Regions from separate parts of the Homo sapiens genome. Here regions 1, 2, 3 and 5 are each linked to region 4. The links are contacts of gene promoters, found by promoter capture Hi-C in human tissues and cell types (Jung and others, 2019). All regions are on one chromosome and are shown on one strand. Each heading gives the region's core, a stretch centred on a gene start or on the middle of the fragment in contact. The rest is flanking DNA. Distances are from core to core; before and after follow the strand shown.

The links. Contacts are between HindIII fragments. The study calls those that stand out against the background at their distance.
Region 1: a contact is called between a fragment that was not itself captured here and the fragment with the promoter of ELP6 in region 4, in 1 of the 25 tissues and cell types used here (adrenal gland).
Region 2: a contact is called between a fragment that was not itself captured here and the fragment with the promoter of ELP6 in region 4, in 1 of the 25 tissues and cell types used here (dorsolateral prefrontal cortex).
Region 3: a contact is called between a fragment that was not itself captured here and the fragment with the promoter of ELP6 in region 4, in 2 of the 25 tissues and cell types used here (dorsolateral prefrontal cortex and hippocampus).
Region 5: a fragment that was not itself captured here is called in contact with the fragment with the promoter of ELP6 in region 4 in 1 of the 25 tissues and cell types used here (aorta).

Annotation. Positions count from the first base shown.
Region 1 is chr3:47,047,031-47,050,161 of GRCh38, reverse strand. The region is part of intron 15 of SETD2 (SET domain containing 2, histone lysine methyltransferase); the gene reads left to right. Among named protein-coding and RNA genes, the nearest start is that of NBEAL2, 69 kb to the right of the region's middle. The HindIII fragment of the contact is 6,243 bases long and covers 1-3,131 here.
Region 2 is chr3:47,168,762-47,172,215 of GRCh38, reverse strand. KIF9-AS1 (KIF9 antisense RNA 1) reads right to left here. Exons shown (of 7, transcript NR_033373.1): 2 at 2,820-3,047. Among named protein-coding and RNA genes, the nearest start is that of KIF9-AS1, 6.1 kb to the right of the region's middle. The HindIII fragment of the contact is 5,548 bases long and covers 1-3,454 here.
Region 3 is chr3:47,991,853-47,995,295 of GRCh38, reverse strand. The region is part of intron 2 of MAP4 (microtubule associated protein 4); the gene reads left to right. Among named protein-coding and RNA genes, the nearest start is that of MAP4, 23 kb to the left of the region's middle. The HindIII fragment of the contact is 4,265 bases long and covers 1-3,443 here.
Region 4 is chr3:47,512,115-47,515,372 of GRCh38, reverse strand. It overlaps ELP6 (elongator acetyltransferase complex subunit 6), which reads left to right and starts at 1,661. Exons shown (of 7, transcript NM_001031703.3): 1 at 1,661-1,836. The coding sequence starts at 1,783. RefSeq lists enhancers at 1,697-1,806, 2,137-2,246. The HindIII fragment of the contact is 13,702 bases long and covers 1-3,258 here.
Region 5 is chr3:47,066,349-47,069,901 of GRCh38, reverse strand. SETD2 (SET domain containing 2, histone lysine methyltransferase) reads left to right here. Exons shown (of 21, transcript NM_014159.7): 13 at 2,784-2,832. Among named protein-coding and RNA genes, the nearest start is that of NBEAL2, 88 kb to the right of the region's middle. RefSeq lists an enhancer at 1,880-2,485. The HindIII fragment of the contact is 3,352 bases long and covers 344-3,553 here.

The DNA.
Region 1 (3,131 bases), core at 110-2,609, 460 kb after region 4:
TTATGCTAGAAACATTCAATTATTCTCTTCTAGCTATTTTGAAATATACAATAAGATTATTCTAAAATATAGATACCTTACTGATCTATGAAATACTTGGTCATGTTTCCTCTATCAAAATGTATGTTTTTCCCATATATATATATGTTTATATATATAAGAAACATAAATTTATATATATAAGAAAAACATATAAATATATGTACAAATATATAAACTTATAGAATAAGTTTATATATAATATATAAATTCAGAATAAGTTTATATATATAATATATACTATAAACTCAGAATAAATTTATATATTATATATAATATAAACTCAGAATAAGTTTATATATATAATATATATAATATAAACTCAGAATAAGTTTATATATAATAATATAAACTCATAGAATAAGTTTATATATATAATATATAATATAAACTCAGAATAAGTTTATATATTTAATATATAATATAAACTCATAGAATAAGTTTATATATAGGCCAGGCGCGGTGGCTCACACCTGTAATCCCAGCACTTTGGGAGGCTGAGGCGGGCGGATCACAAGGTCAGGAGATCGAGGCCATCCTGGCTAACAAGGTGAAACCCCATCTCTACTAAAAATACAAAAAATTAGCCAGGTGTGGTGGTGGGCACCTGTAGTCCCAGCTACTCGGGAGGCTGAGGCAGGAGAATGGCGTGAACCCGGGAGGCGGAGCTTGCAGTGAGCCGAGGTCGTGCCACTGCACTCCAGCCTGGGCGACAGAGCCAGACTCTGTCTCAAAAAAAAAAAAAAAAGAATAAGTTTATATATATAAGAATACATATATATATATATATATATATATATATATATATATATATATATTTAGAAAACTTATTCTATAAAAAACTTATAGAATAAGAATAAGGATATAAAAAAAATATTTGGCCCAGTGTGTTGTCTCACATCTGTAATCCCAGCAATCTGGGAGGCCAAGGCAGGAGAATCACTCAAACACAAGAGTTCAAGACTAGCCTAGACAACATAGCGAAACCCTGTCTCTACAAATTTGTTTTTAATTAGCTGGGCGTGGTGGCACATACTCGGGAGGCTGAGATGGGAGGATTGCTTCAGTCCAGGAGTTCAAGGCTACAGTAAGCTATGATCACACTACTGCATTCCAGCCTGGGTGACAGAATGAGACTCTTTTTTAAAAAAAATATAGGCCAGGCACGGTGGCTCACACCTGTAATCCCAGCACTTTGGGAGGCTGAGGTGGGCAGATCACAAGGTTAGGAGATGGAGACCATCCTGGCCAACATGGTGAAACCCCGTCTCTGCTAAAATAAAAAAAATTAGCCAGGCGTGGTGGCACGCACCTGTAGTCCCAGGTACTCGGGAGGCTGAGGCAGGAGAATTGCTTGAACCCGGGAGGTGGAGGTTGCAGTGAGCCCAGATCGCACCACTGCTCTCCACCCTGGCGAGGAGGAGGGAGGAGGGTTGTTTATACAGCTGTAGAATGTGTTTGTATTTTAAGATAAGTGTTATAAAAGAGTTAAAAAGTTGAAAAAATTTGTTTATAAAGTAAAAAAGTTATAGTAAGTTACAGTTAATTTATTAAAAAAATGTTAATAAACTTAGTGTAGCCCAAGTGTTTATAGTCTACAGTAGTGTACAGTAATGTCCTAGGCCTTCATATTCACTCACTCACCACTCACTTACTCAAAGCAACTTCCAGTCCTGCAAGCTTTGTTTATAGTTAGTTCCCTATACAGGTGTACCATTTAAATTTTGTTTTTTTGAGACGGCATCTCGCTCTGTTGCCCAGGCTGGAGTGCAGTGGTGCCATCTCGGTTCACTGCAACCTCTACCTCCTGGGTTCAAGCGATTCTTCTGCCTCAGCCTCCTGAGTGGCTGGGACTACAGGTGCATGCCACCATGCCTGGCTAATTTTTTGTATTTTTAGTAGAGATGGGATTTCACCGTGTTAGCCAGGATGGTCTCGATCTCCTGACCTCGTGATCCGCCCACTTTGGCCTCCCAAAGTGCTCGGGTTGCAGGTGTGAGCCACCGTGCCCCGGCCTAAAAAATTTTTATACTGTATTTTTACTGTAACTTTTCCATGTTTAGATACACAGATACTGTTAAGTTATAGTTGCTTACAAGTCTTTATTACAGAAACATGCTGTACAGGTTTGTAGCCTAGGAACAACAGACTATACCATATAGCCTAGGTATCTAATAGATTTGTGAAGTACACTGTATGATGTGTAAGTACCTCATACACTTAGTAGGTTTGTGAAAGTACATTATATGATGTTACCACAACAATGAAATCTCCTAACAATGCATTTCTCAGAATGTACCCCCCTTGTTAAGCAATACATGACTGTACATTTTCCTCTCAGGCTTTGTGATACTATTCTGATGGTAATTCTGCCTTAACAATTAATGTTTTTCAGTCTGGTTTATTATCCAAGTAGATTAAGCTGATCCAGAATACCAAATTAAGTGTTCTTTTCCTTTTTCCTGTGTCCTGTCAGTAATTATTCATTCAGAAACCTGCTAGATAGCTGCATTGCCTATTCAGACTACTTGAGTTTTTACTGGTGTCATTTGGAATTATATTTTGTATTTTGAGTACTTAGCATTTGATGTTTCTGTAATCATTTTACCTGCTAGAATCTCAGTCCATAGGAGCAAAATCTCTCCTTAAGCACAGGATACATGTCTATTCAATTCCTTAACAGTCACCACCTCTTAGGACAGCAAGGCTATTTTTCAGTCTTCTTATCACCTCTTCTTATTTAAGCAGATTTTCTATGCTTGAGAAATAATTACAGAGTAGGTTTAAGCCCTAGCATAGTACTTATTTCTTATGAAACTCCAGGCATGGGCAGTACCTGGTTTTGATGGTGGTCAGCACTAAATGAGATGATGTATGTTAAGGGGCTTCTTGCATCATAGAACACTGTATAAATTGGTGTGTTGTGAGAATTTCAGATGCATTGATTCTGCTTTCTGCCAAGGGGTTTTATCATAGAAGACTACAAAAAGCTAAAACAAAAGGTAGCTTAAAATTTGATCATCTTATTTACTATGATTCACACCCTTTGACCTTTTCTGATCCAAACAACCTGTTTGTTATTACAAGTTGGT
Region 2 (3,454 bases), core at 353-2,852, 340 kb after region 4:
AAATCCAGGCATGGTGGAGTACACCTGTGGTCCCAGCTACTTGGGTGACTGAGGTGGGAAGATCGCTTGAGCCCAAGTGTTTGAGGTGATACTCCTGCCTCAGCAACAAATGCAAAACCCTGCCTTTTAAGCTGTTTAATAGTAGTTCATTATATATACTATAGTTGATAGACATTTGCCCATTTGCCAATACTGCTACAGACATTCCTAGACATGTCTTTTGGTGTATATTTGCAAGAGTTTTAATTTGTATATCTAAGAACAATTGTTGGGTTTTAAGATATGCCCATATGCAACTCTACTAGGTAATGCCAACCAACTTGTTTTCCAAAATGATTGTATCAATTAACACTCTGACCAGCACCCTGATTTCCCTGAAACAGCTTTTCAAATGTTTCCTGGACATTAATTTTTCCTCTTCTGAGGTATTTACCAATTTAAAAAGCTGGGTTGTCTTTCTCTTATTCACTTACATTAGTTCTATATATATCCTAGATCAGTGCTGTCCAAGAGAAATAAAATGGAAGTCACAAATGTGATTTTAAATTTTCTAGAAGCCACATAAAGAGGTGAAATGGTTTTTTGTTGAGACAGGATCTTGCTCTGTTGCCCAGGCTGGAGCGCAGTGGCATAATCTCAGCTCACTGCAAACTCTGCCTCCCAGGTTCAAGCGATTCTCATGCTTCAGCCTCCCAAATAGCTGGGACTACAGGTGCATGCAACCATGCCTAGCTAATTTTTGTATTTTTAGTAGAGAAGGGGTTTCACCATGCTGGCCAGGCTGATCTCGAACTCCTGACTTCAAGTAATCCGCCCACCTCAGCCTCCCAAAGTGCTAGGATTATAGGTGTGAGACACCATGCCTGGCCTTTTTTTTTTAAAAGAGACAGTCTTGCTTTGTGATCTAGGCTGGTGTACAGTGGCAAGATCATTGCTCACCGTAACTTTGAACTCCTGGGCTCAAGAGATCCTCCCACTTCAGCCTCCTGACTAGCTGGGACCACAGGCATGTGCCATGATGTCTGGCTAATTTTTTTGAGATGGAGTCTTGCTCTGGCTGGAGTGCAGTGGCGTGATCTCGGCTCACTGCAACCTCCGTCTCCTGAGTTCAAGTGATTCTCCTGCCTCAACCTCCTAAGTAGCTGGGATTACAGGCACATGCCAGCATGCCCGGGTAATTTTTGTATTTTTAGTAGAGATGGGGTTTTGCCATGTTGGGCAGGCTGGTCTTGAACTCTTGACCTCAGGTGATCTGCCCATCTCAGCCTCCCAAAGTGCTAGGATTACAGGTGTGAGCCACCGCACCCAGCCAATTTTTTTGTATTTTAGGTAGAGATGGGGTTTCATCATGTTGTCCAGGGTGGTCTTGAGCCCCTTAGTTAAAGCAATTCACCTGCCTGAGCCTCCCAAAGTGCTGGGATTACAGGCGTGAGCCACCATACCTGGCCTAAGTTTTATTTTCTTGTCCATTTTGCACTCTTTAAAACTGAAATGTATTCCCCCTGCCTCAGCCTCCCAAGTAGCTGGGACTATAGGTGTGCACCACCACAGCTGGCTAATCTCTTTTGTTTTTTGTAGAGCTGGGAGGGAGTCTGGCTATGTTGCACAGGCTGGTCTTAAACTCCTGGTCTCAAGCAATCCTTCCGCCTCAGCATCTCAAAGTGCTGGGATTACAGGCGTGAGCCACCATGCTCGGCCTTTTTTTTTGTATTTTTCTTTATTCTATTTTCTTCTGTTAATTTGGAAAAGCAGTTACCCTACATATTTTATCTTATACACTTAAAAGAGTAAAGGTTAAAGTTAATCAATATTTTTACCCACTTCCCAAACAATACCAGGACCTTGGAAAACTTCAACTCCAACCATCACTCCACTCATCCTGCTTCTAAATATATGACTTTGTTGTCCAGAGTATCAGTTCCATCTTGCTTTACCTTATTAACCACACAAATTACTTACTATTACTTTGTATGGTAAAAAGTTTTTAGTTTTAACCACTTATTTACTAATATTTTTATCATTCCTTCTTGTATAAGGGATCATTTCTTTCTTTTTTATAAAATTATTTACTATGTAAAATTAAAAAAATTTTTTTTCAGCACCTGACACTCCCAGTGTGGGCTGAGATGCTGAGGCTAGGATCATTTCTTGTTGGTGGCAAACTCCAGATTTTTTTGTCTGAAAATGTCTTGAAACAGATAACCTGGCTGAAATCCTGGTTTTATCATTTCTTAGTCATGTGACTCTAGATATGCACCATAACCTCTGGAATCATTGGTTTATTCATCTGCAAAACTGGTAATCTTGAGTACATTCATTCTCTGCTGGGTAAGACAAGTTTGGGAGGGAAGATGCACTGAGAAGCTCCTGAGCAGATGAGTTCTCTAGAAGAACGCCAAGATCCAAAGCAAAACAGAATAAAAGATACACCATAATCACCTCTCTGAATGTTTGAAAACTGTAGGGAGGCTGGGCGCCGTGGCTCATGCCTGTAATCCCAGCACTTTGGGAGGCTGAGGCGGGTGGATCACAAGGTCAGGAGTTCAAGACCAGCCTGGCCAAGATGGTGAAACCCCGTCTCTACTAAAGATACAAAAAATTAGCTGGGTATGGTGGCGCGCGTCTGTAATCCCAGCTACTCAGGAGGCTGAGGCAGGAGAATCGCTTGAACCCAGGCAGTAGAGGTTGCAGTGAGCTGAGATTGTGCCACCGCACTCCAGCCTGGGCGACAGAGTGAGATTCCATCTCAAAAAAAAAAAAAAAAGAAAAAGAAAATTGTAGGGAAGACAAGGTTAACACATATTGAAAAAAAAAATTACCTAATAACAATATTCCTGTATACTTGAGAGTTACAGTGCATGGTTCTTTTTAGTCAGTCTTTTCAAATCCAGTGAAATAGCTGCTTGTAGGAGTTTACAAAAGAGACTTTACAGAAGAGAGTGCCTGACTGGAAGTAATCAACTTGTTAGCCAACTCCAACAATCTATTTTTAACAGAAAAATCCAATGTGAACACTAAGAAAAAGAATTGGTATTCCATGGATGAGCCTGAAAAAAAAAGAAAAAGGAATTGGTAAAAAGGAAAAGTATTAATCAAAAAGTAAGCTTTTCAGAAGTAACAAAGTAGTTATTCATTCAACACTTGCTACCTACAGCCTCAAACACTATAAAATAGGAAAGACAGATTGCTTCTGCCTACAACAAACTTATAAAGTTGGTAAGATAGATATATTATGTAATTAAAATCTGTTAACAAAGCAATATGTAACAGAAAGATTATCTGTATAGGAAAAACAACTACAGAGTATAATAATACTATGTAGGAGGGTGCTGACTTGATACAAATAACATCTAATAGGAATTATAGGAGGTGGAGCTCAATGTAGGTTGTGCATTGTTTTCTAGATTCTTCTTGCCTTGTGTTGGGATGTGCAGAATGAATAGGAATAAAAATA
Region 3 (3,443 bases), core at 124-2,623, 480 kb before region 4:
CTGGGCGAGAGAACGAGACTCTGTCTCAAAAAAAAAAAAAAAAAAGAAAAGAAAAAAAGTTGCTATCATTGCTTACAAAAGTATCTTGATGTTGCAAAAGCTTATGTTGAGAAGTAAAGTTCATATTTTATTTTTATCCTTTAATTCAATTTTCCAGAAACTCATACATTTTTTGAACAGGCTAAAAAATACACATGTACAAAATCCAATTGGTCCAAAGGGATGTACGGTAAAACAAATTCTCCCAATCCCTACACCCTAGCCAGACAGTTCTCCTTCCTGGAGTAACCACTCGCCAATTTCTGGAGTAGTCTTTCTGAGTTAATGAACTTTTTTTTTTTTTTTTTGAGATGGAGTCCCGCTCTATTGCACAGGCTGGAGTGCAGTGGCACGATCTCTGCTCACTGCATCCTCCGCCTCCCAGGTTCAAGCGATCCTCCTGCCTCAACACCCCAGTAGCTGGGATTACAGGCCTGCACCACCATGCCTGGCTAATTTTTGTATTTTTAGTAGAGATGGGGTTTCGCCCTGTTGGCCAGGCTGGTCTCAAACTCCTGACCTCAGGTGATCCACTTGCCTTGGCCTCCCAAAGTGCTGGGATTACAGGCATGAGCCACCATTTACATATCAAAAGTAGCAGGGAGGATTTAATTTTTTATAAATAAAATAATGTCTTAAAAACTTTCCTCCTCTTGGGCCAAGTTAATGTTACATGGATCAAATAACTCAAGATGAAGCACAAGAAAATCTACTGCTACCACCTCACTGTCCTTATCCACCTAGGCTCATTCCCAGATGATGGAAACAATGCACAGTTAAAGGAAATTAGAAAACGAAAAGCAGCTAGCTTCTTTCACCTATGACTGATGAGGGTAAGTTAATATTAGGATGGGAAGAGCATCTCAACCATGACTAGTTGCTACCATATTTACATCTTATCATTCCTTTCTTCATACTAGGTTTTCTTTGTTTATGTTAGTCAGTCAAAGAACAAATGTCTCCACCGTGCATTATGGATTAAGAGAGAATAGATTTTCCCGTTTTCCATTAAGGAATCCAAATTTTTTGGAGTAAATATTTGTTTTTCTTTTGTGCTGGGATTATAGGTGTGAGCCACTGTGCCTGGCTTTTTTACATTATTAAATGAAGAAAAATGAAGAAATGAAGAAAAATGGATGCCCTTTAAAGTTTTTTTTGGTTTAAGTTTTTAATTTTTTGTTGCTACCAAAGATTTTTTTAAAGATTAGGAAACAAAAAAGAAGGAACCAAATCAGGACTGTTGTAAGGTGGTTGCCTAATGATTTCTCATCAAAACTGTCACAAATTATCTTTGTTGATGAAAGGAATGAACAGGAGCATTGTCCTGGTGGAGAAGGACTCTCTGATGAAGCTTTCCTGGCTGTTTTTCTGCTAAAGCATTGGCTGACTTTCTCAAAACACCCTCATAATAAGATGTTGTCATTCTTTGGCTCTCCAGAAAGTCAACAGACAAAGTGCTTTGAGCATCCTAAAAAACTCTTGTGTTTGCTCTTGACTGATCCACTTTTGCTTTGACTACAGCACTTACGCCTCTTGGTAGCCATTGCTTTGATTGTGCTTTGTCTTTAGGATTATACTGGTAAAACCATATTTCATCTCCTGTTACAATTCTTCAAAGAAATGCTTCAGGATCTTGATCCCACTTGTTTAAAATTTACATCGAAAGCTCTGCTCTTTGCAGCTCATCTGGATGCAACCATTTTGGCACCAGTTGAGTGGAAAGTTTGCTCAATTTTAATTTATCAGCCAAAATTGTATAAACTGAACCAATTGAGATGTCTGTGGTATTGGCTATTGTTTCTGCTAATTGTCAATCCTCTTCAATTAGATCATTCTTTTTTCCTCTCAAATTGATATTGGTGGTCTGCCACGGTGGGCTTCATCTTCAACATCATCTCCTCCTTTATTTTTTTTCTTTTTTTGAGACAGAGTCTTACTACATTGCCCAAATTAGAGTATAGTGACTATTTACAGGTGTAACCATAGCACACTACAGCCTTGAACTCCTGGGCTCAAGTGATCCTCCTGTCTCAGCCTTCCAAGTAGCTGGGACTATAGGTGCGGACCACTGCATCTGGCTGATGTCTTAAAACAAGTTATTCATGTGTAAACTACTGATTTGTTTGGGGCATTGTCCCCATAAACTTTACACAAAGCATCAGTGATTTCACCATTCTTTCATCCAAGCTTCACCATAAATTTACCATTTGCTTTTGCTTCAATTTTAGCAGAATTCATGTTGCTTTATTAGGGGCTCTTTTCAAACTGATGTTTTATCCTTTTTAGTGCTTCAAACTAGATCCTGTTCAGACGTGTTATAACAAGTTAGTATGAGCTTTTTTTTTTTTTTTTTAAGATGGAGTGTCTCTCTGTCACCCAGGCTGGAGTGCGGTGGCACAGTCTCGGCTCACTGCAACCTCTACCTCCTGTGTTCAAGAGATTCTCCTGCCTCAGCCTCCTGAGTAGCTGGGCTTATAGGCACATGCTACCATGCCCAGCTAATTTTTGTATTTTTAGTAGAGATGGGGTTTCGCCATATTGGTCAGGCTGGAGTATGAGTTATTTTGATACAAAAAAACTCCCTTGAAATCCATGAATAATTTTTTCATAGAATGCATTTTCCACGAACTTGTTGAAGATACCATGTTTAAAGTTTATAATTATAGCTGGGCGTGGTAGTGTGCGCCTGTAGTCCGAGCTACACAGGAAGCTGAGGTAGGAGGCAATCACTTGAGCCCCAGAGGTCGAGGCTGCAGTGAGCCATAAAAGCACCACTGTGCTGCAGCCTGGGTGACAGAGAGAGACCCCGTCTCTAAAAATAATAATAATAATAAAGTTTATAATTATGATAGGTTGTAAATTACTACATTTTTTCCATACCAGCTTCCTAAAAGTTGTAGAAGTCTTAACTTAAAGGAAGGGGTGATGGCTGTTTGGAGACATCAAATAAGAAAAACGAAGGAAGCCGCCTTATTTAGTCTTGTAGAAATCTGGTGCAATTAGTGAGTTCTTTATGAATGGAGACTTCTCTGCTGTGGGTCTGATTTTTATACATTATCGGACTGATGGTTTTTGCCATAATGACAGGTTTCATATTTGTGTTTTTCCTGGAGAACATTCTAAACAAGATGTTCTTCTGAATACATCTTTAGAAGTGATGGAAGGGCCCTAGACTTCATTAATGTTTTATTATACATCTAACTTTAAGTTTGATTTTGTTCTTAGATGAGGTTCAGTAAACTACTGCTGATTGCTGACACTTTTTTTTTTTTTGAAGACAGGGTCTTACTGGGCGCGGTGGTTCACGCCTATAATCCCAGCACTTTGGGAGGCTGAGGCGGGTGGATCACCTGAGGTCAGGAGTTCGAGACCAGCCTGGCTAACATGGTGAAACCCTGTCTCTA
Region 4 (3,258 bases), core at 412-2,911:
GAGAAGCAGCCTTGATTTCCATCCCAGGTGCAGAGCTTCAGCTAACGATTACATTCCACATCGATCTTAACCTTGTAGTTTCCACAGAAATGACCCTGGGTCCCCTTTGCAGTCCACGCCAGATTAGGACTCCACACACAGCTGTGCTGTGCTTTGAGCATATCAAACACCGGTTCACTTAAATTTCACCTGAATTCGACTCTTTCCCAAATCATATAACAATTATTTTAGTGACTGTCAATAAACTTGACTTTGGTGGAATTACAGGTTTGTCCACTGATCTGAGGCTGATTGGGCTAGAACAAAACTATATACGGTATAATAGATATAAATGTTATGGAAAAAAATAAAAGCAAGGAAAAAGAAGTGTTGGGAAAGGGACAGTTTGTGATTTAAGTAAGGTGCTCAGGGAAGGCCTCACGAATAAAGTGACATCGGAGCAGAGACCTGAAGGAAGTGGGGAATTTTAAAATCAGCTTAATATCTGGGAAAAGGGGCATTCCAGGAAGAGGGAAGAGTTAGTATAAAGGCTCTGAGGACAGGCATACAGGGCGTGTTGCAACCACACTGTTTTTTAACGAAGTCTCACACTGCTGCCCAGGCTAGAGAGCAATGGCGTGATCTCGGCTTACTGCAACCTCTGCCTCCCAGGTTCAAGCGATTCTACTGGCTCAGCCTCCCGAGTGGCTGGGATGACAGGCGCCCCCCACCACGCCAGGCTAATTTTTTGTATTTTTAATAGAGAAGGGGGTTTCACTATATTGGCCAGGCTAGTCTCGAACTCCTGACCTCGTGATCCCTCCGTCTAGGCCTCCCAAAGTGCTGGCATTACAGGTGTGAGCCACCGCGCCCAGCCGCAACCACACTTTCTTAGTGAGACCCACCCTGACAACCTCTTTAATTCTGGAACCTACCCCTGCCCCCATTGGTACTCTCTAATCCCACTTTGCTTTTCTCCACACAACTTTTCAAGATATAATTCCGTGTCGGCCGGGCGTGGTGGCTCATGCCTGTAATCCCAGCACTTTGGGAGGCCGAGGCCGGCGGATCACGAGGTCGGGAGATCAAGACCATCCTGGCTAACACGGTGAAACCCCGTCTCTACTAAAAATACAAAAAATTAGCCGGGCGTGGTGGCGGGCGCCTGTAGTCCCAGCTACACTCGGGAGGCTGAGGCAGGAGAATGGCGTGAACCCAGGAGGCGGAGACTGTAGTGAGCCGAGATCGCGCCACTGCACTCCAGCCTGGGCGACAGGGCAAGACTCCGTCTCAATTAAATAATAATAATAATAATAATAATAATAATAATAATAATAAATTCCCTGTCCTTTGTTTTTGTTCATCGATGTAGCCCAAGCTCCCAGGAGTGTGGGGCATACAGAAGGCGCTTGACAGCCACGTGTGGAGAAAAGGAGCCCGGGGCTGGGCAGAGAGCGAGGCCAAGGGAAGAAGAATACTCGGTCGCGTGGAGCCTTGGGGGCCCACTGGGAGGGCTCGGGCGCCACGCAGATCTGCGCGGAATGAGCCGCCAGAGGCCGCTGGCAGTCGCACAGAGAAGCCCATCGTTTCCTACCACCTGGGACTCGACGGACGTCTACGCGCGTGCGCAGCGGTCCCATCGAGGCACCCGCCTCATTGGCTGTGGCTGGCTCGCAAAAGTGGCATTGCGCATGCGCGCTTCCTTGCGCGAGCCGGGCTGTCGGGTGTGTTTTGCTCTCCAGCCTCCGTCGTCTCTGCAGCACTCCGGGTTCTCCTCCAGAGCGCTAGTCCCAGGAGCTCGGAATGTTCGTGGAACTTAATAACCTGCTTAACACCACCCCCGACAGGGCGGAGCAGGTAAGAGGTCCCGCTGGCCGGAAGGGGGCGGGACCTGGCAGGGCAGCGGAATACTGCATCCGGGAGGCGGTGCGCACGACCCCGGGGAATGGCGCGACGACCCGGCACGGGGTACCTGGGAGTTGTAGTCCGCAGAGGATCGACCCGGGGATTGGACTGGAGGCTTGGGCCCGCCGAAAGTGGGCTTCTGGGCCATCTCGCATATTCTCAACGGCTGTGCGTGTCCTTAAAAGTCCCTGGGAAGCGGCCGGGCGCGGTGGCTCACCCCTGTAATCCCAGCAGTTTGGGAGGCCGAGGCGGGTGCATCATCTAAGGTCAAGAGTTCGAGACAAGTCTGGCCAAGATGGTGAAACCCCCGTCTCTACGAAAAATACAAAAATTAGCCGGGCGTGGTGGCTCATGCCTGTAATCTCAGCTACTCGGGAGGCTGAGACAGGAGAATTGCTTGAACCCGGGAGGCGGAGGTTGCAGTGACCCGAGATCTCGCCACCGCACTCCAGCCTGGGCGACAGAGCGGGACTCCACCTCAAAAAAAAAAAAAAAAAGTACCTGGGAAGCATGGCCGACAGTGGGGTTGGGTTATATTCGCGGACGTGAACTGTGGCGCGCTGTGCATGTTCACTGGGGTGGGGGGTCCCAGGCGCTCAGAGGAGACTGCAGAATAGGCCCGAGAGGAGAGGGGAGTTCGTTTCGCCGCCGTCTTCATGGGCGAGCTTCCTAACCGCCACCTCGCCCCGGAGCAATTGGCACATTGTATTGAACGCTGCTGTTCTTCTTACTCTTCCTCCTTGTGATCTCTAATAGAACTGTTAGAAGCAGGACAGAGCCAAATTGGCTTGGACCAAGTCCGTCTTGGGCACCCCAGGCTGGCCTGTTCTCTCCACCCTCCTCACACTCCGGGGTACCTTGAAACCTTTCACATTTTAACGTAGGAGTAACCTCTTTCAGGAGTGTATCTTTTGGCTTATTTATTTATTTATTTATTTTTGATGGAGTCTCGCTCCCTCGCCTGGGCTGGAGTGCACTGGCGCGATCTCGGCTCCCTGCAACCTCACCTCCCGGGTTCAAGTGATTCTCCTTATTCAGCCTCCCAAGTAGCTGGGATTGCAGGCGTGCGCTACCACACCGGGCTAATTACTTGGCTGATTTTTTTTTGTATTTTTTGTTAGAGACGGGGTTTCACCATGTTGGCCAGGCTGGTCTGGAACTCCTGACCTCAGGTGATCCGCCCGCCTCTGCCTCCCAAAGTGCTGGGATTACAGGCGTGAGCCACCACGCCCAGCCTGGTTTATTCATAATCTTTGTCTTCCTAATGAAATGGTAAACTCCTCCAGGCAACCAGGATACTAAGTGTCTAAAGCCTTTTTATGACCCCATAGCGCCAAATTGTAGCTTTCAGTAGATCCTTGTGGATTTTAGTTG
Region 5 (3,553 bases), core at 770-3,269, 450 kb after region 4:
CTTATAGTGTGGGTAGATGGTAATAAATGGCGTTCTTACTTTTTCCTGTCTAATAACCCCTCTGAGAGGCAGACAGAGGAGTAAGACACACAGAACTAAGAGTGCCAGCTTGCTCCTTCCTGTCTTTATTCCTGATTCAGTATTACCCACAGCTAGAAATTGACAACTCAGTAACTTCAGATGTCCCTCATAGTAGCAGATGGGAATGTACCCCCTCTCTAAAGGCAAAAGCAGATCAAGAGAAAAGAGAGCCCAGATGTCTCTTAGCTGAGGGCAGGCCTACCTAGTTTTTTCTCCCAGATTCTCTCTTGTGGGGAGGGGTGGGTGAGGATAAGAATAGCCAGTAGTTCAGTAGTTCTCAGCCTTCTCTGTGCATCAGAATCATCTGAGGAGCTTCTAAAAAATACGCATGTCTGGCATCCACATCCAGAGATTTAGATTCACTTTGTCTGGGGTGGTATTTCCATGAACGCTTCTTGGGTGGTTTAATTGTACAACCAGGGTAGAGAATCACAGCTCTAATGAAAGTTCTTCTACATAGGAAGGAGAGGTTAAGGGGATGGAGGATGTCACCTGCATTTGTGCATAAATCTCAGAATGGTACTCCTTCTCAAAATAATGTTGTTAGGCATGTCCTGTGTCATCTAATACAGAAGATAAAAGTGCTCTTGAGTTAGACTGTCTGGTAGCATCATAACCTTGGGTAGATTGCTAAGCTTTTTAAGTAAGTTTCCTTTTTGGAAAATTGAGGTAATAGTACTTACCTCATAGGGTCGTTTTGAAGCTCAAATAAGATAATGTATTTGAAGGGCCGGGTGCGGTGGCTCACATCTGTAATCCCAGAACTTTGGGAGGCCAAGGTGGGCAGATCATGAGGTCAGGAGTTCGAGACCAGTCTGGCCAACATGATGAAACCCCATCTCTACTAAAAATACAAAAATTAGCCAAGCATGGTGGCATGCACCTGTAATCCCAGTTACTGGGGAGGCTAAGGAGAATCGCTTGAACCTGGGAGGTGGAGGTTGCAATGAGCTGAGATCGCACCACTGCACTCCAGCCTGTGCGACAGAGACCCCGGTTCAAAAAACAAAACAAAACAAAAAGATAGGCCGGGCGCAGTGGCTTACGCCTGTAATCCTAGCACTTTGGGAGGCCAGGGTGGGAAGATCATGAGATCAGGAGTTCGAGACCAACCTGGCTAACATGGTGAAACCCTGTCTTTACTAAAAATACAAAAATTAGCTGGGCATGGTGGTGTGTGCCTATAATCCCTGCTACTCAGGAGGCTGAGGCAGGAGAATTGCTTGAACCCAGGAGGCAGAGGTTGCAGTAAGCTGAGATTGTGCCGCTTTACCCCAGCCTGGATGACAGAGCAAGACTCCGTCTCAAAAAAAAAAAAAAAAAAAAAGATAGTGTATTTGAAATGTTCAGCATGATATCTGGCACACAGTATAAGTGCACAATTAATTATAATCATCTTTATTAATTTGTCAGCATGCATATAGTATTGGAGGTTTAAAAAAATTTTTCATTTATATAGATTTCCCTGGATCTGTGCAGTCCATATTGATCCTTTTTAATGGCAACTGAATATTACATCATGACCTTTCCTCAGTTGTGTGACATGTGGCTTATTATTTTTCACAAATATTGTGAGAAGCAACAATTGTGGAGAGGAGGCCACAGGTGTGGTTAATATTATGAGATTCCTCTGAAGGGATGATATCACCTTATGTACTATTGAGAGTGTGTAGGCTTGTTACTGTCCCACTTAAGATGACTGGATAAGAAAGTATTGTGCCCAATAGTTACTCGATGGACGGTGGAATAGTGAAGAGCTGTTAAAGAACAAAATAGGTTCTAGGCCTTAGATAACACAAGAAAAGGTACTTAAAAGCCTTTAAAACAGTTCACATTTCTCAGGATCAATTTTGGTACAGTGATCAAGAGGAGCAGTGATCTAATGCTTATCCTTTATATTTTTTATTTTTTATAACAAACACAATGTGAAAGTAGATATTACATTGGCCATTAGTCATGTTGGTTTTGCATTTATAGAAAAATACACTGAATAGTAGGAATTGTCTTTACACATACAATTTTTCTGAAGTGTTTTTATATAACTGGGTAGTTATTAACCTTTTCTTTCTCTAAGTAGAGATGGCAAGTGCACATTAGAATTATGAATACTTGGCCAGGCATGGTGGCTCACGCCTGTAATCCCAGCACTTTGGGAGGCTGAGTAGATTGCTTGAGCCCAGGAGTTCGAGACCAGCCTGGGCAATGTGATAAAACCCCATCTCTACAAAAATAGAAAAAATTAGCGGGGCATGGTGGCATCCACCTGTGGTCCCAGCTACTTGGGAGGCTGGGGCAGAAGGATTGCTTGTGCCTGGGAGGCAGAGGTTGCAGTGAGCCGAGATCATGCCACTGCCCTTCAGCCTGGGTGACAGAGCAAGACCTTGTCTCAAAAAAAAAAAAAAAAAAAAAAAAAAGATGCTCAGGAAGCGTATCCTTGCCCAGTCATTTAGTATGCTGCTTTGCTAGTGAGATCGTACAAGCTTGATAGATGTAAATATATGTATTTCTGCTATATATTTTTTCTTGTTTTTAAGGGGCCAGGATATATTCTTATTTAAAGCCCAGATATAAGTCAAATTTTAGAGAATAAGTACCAGCTTGTTACTTTCCATTTCTTTATTGTCATGTGAAAACAGTCAGTTTCAAAGCAATCACCATTTCCACCCTCACTAATAACCCTCCCTCTGGTTTATTTTTTGCAGGAGGTATATCGAATTCCAAAGAAAAGTCAAACTGAAAAGGAAAACACAAGTAGGTATTCAGAGATACTCTGTGTTGATGGCTTTACAAATATTCTTTTGTTATGTGCAGAGGTAACTGATAAGAACTTAAGCGTTTTTGTTTTTGAAACTAGAGAATATATAACTAGGTAAATGAAATATTTGGTGTAAAAGTTTGGAAACTTGTGCTTTTATTCTTAATGCATTTTGCCAAAGGAAATGTCTCTTACACTGTTTTGTTGTCGCTTTCCTTGAACTCAGTCTTTACTAGCTTTTTTTCTATTCGTTTGTCCTCTAGAGCAGACATTCTTTATTTTTTTTATTTAGTCTTTTTTTCTTTTATTATTGTGATTTTGATTTTTTTTTTCCTTCGCACCAGATAGAGCAGACATTCTTAAACCTATACTTCTAGATGTCTTTGGGAGGGTCTTTACCTCAAGATATTTATATGCAGCTGGGCAGGGTGGCTCACACCTGTAATCCTAGCACTTTGGGAAGTTGAAGCAGGTGGATTGCTTGAGCCCAAGAGTTTGAGACCAGCCTGGGAAACATGGTGAAACCCTGTCTCTACAAAAAATACAAAAATATTAGCTAAGTGTGGTGGTGTGTGCCTATAATCCTAATTACCAGGAGGCTGAGGTAGGAGGATCACCTGAGCCTAGGAGATTGAGGCTGCAGTGAGCCATGATCGTGCCACTGTACTCCAGCCTGAGCAACAAAGTGAGGCCCTGTCTCTAAAAGGAAAAAAGATG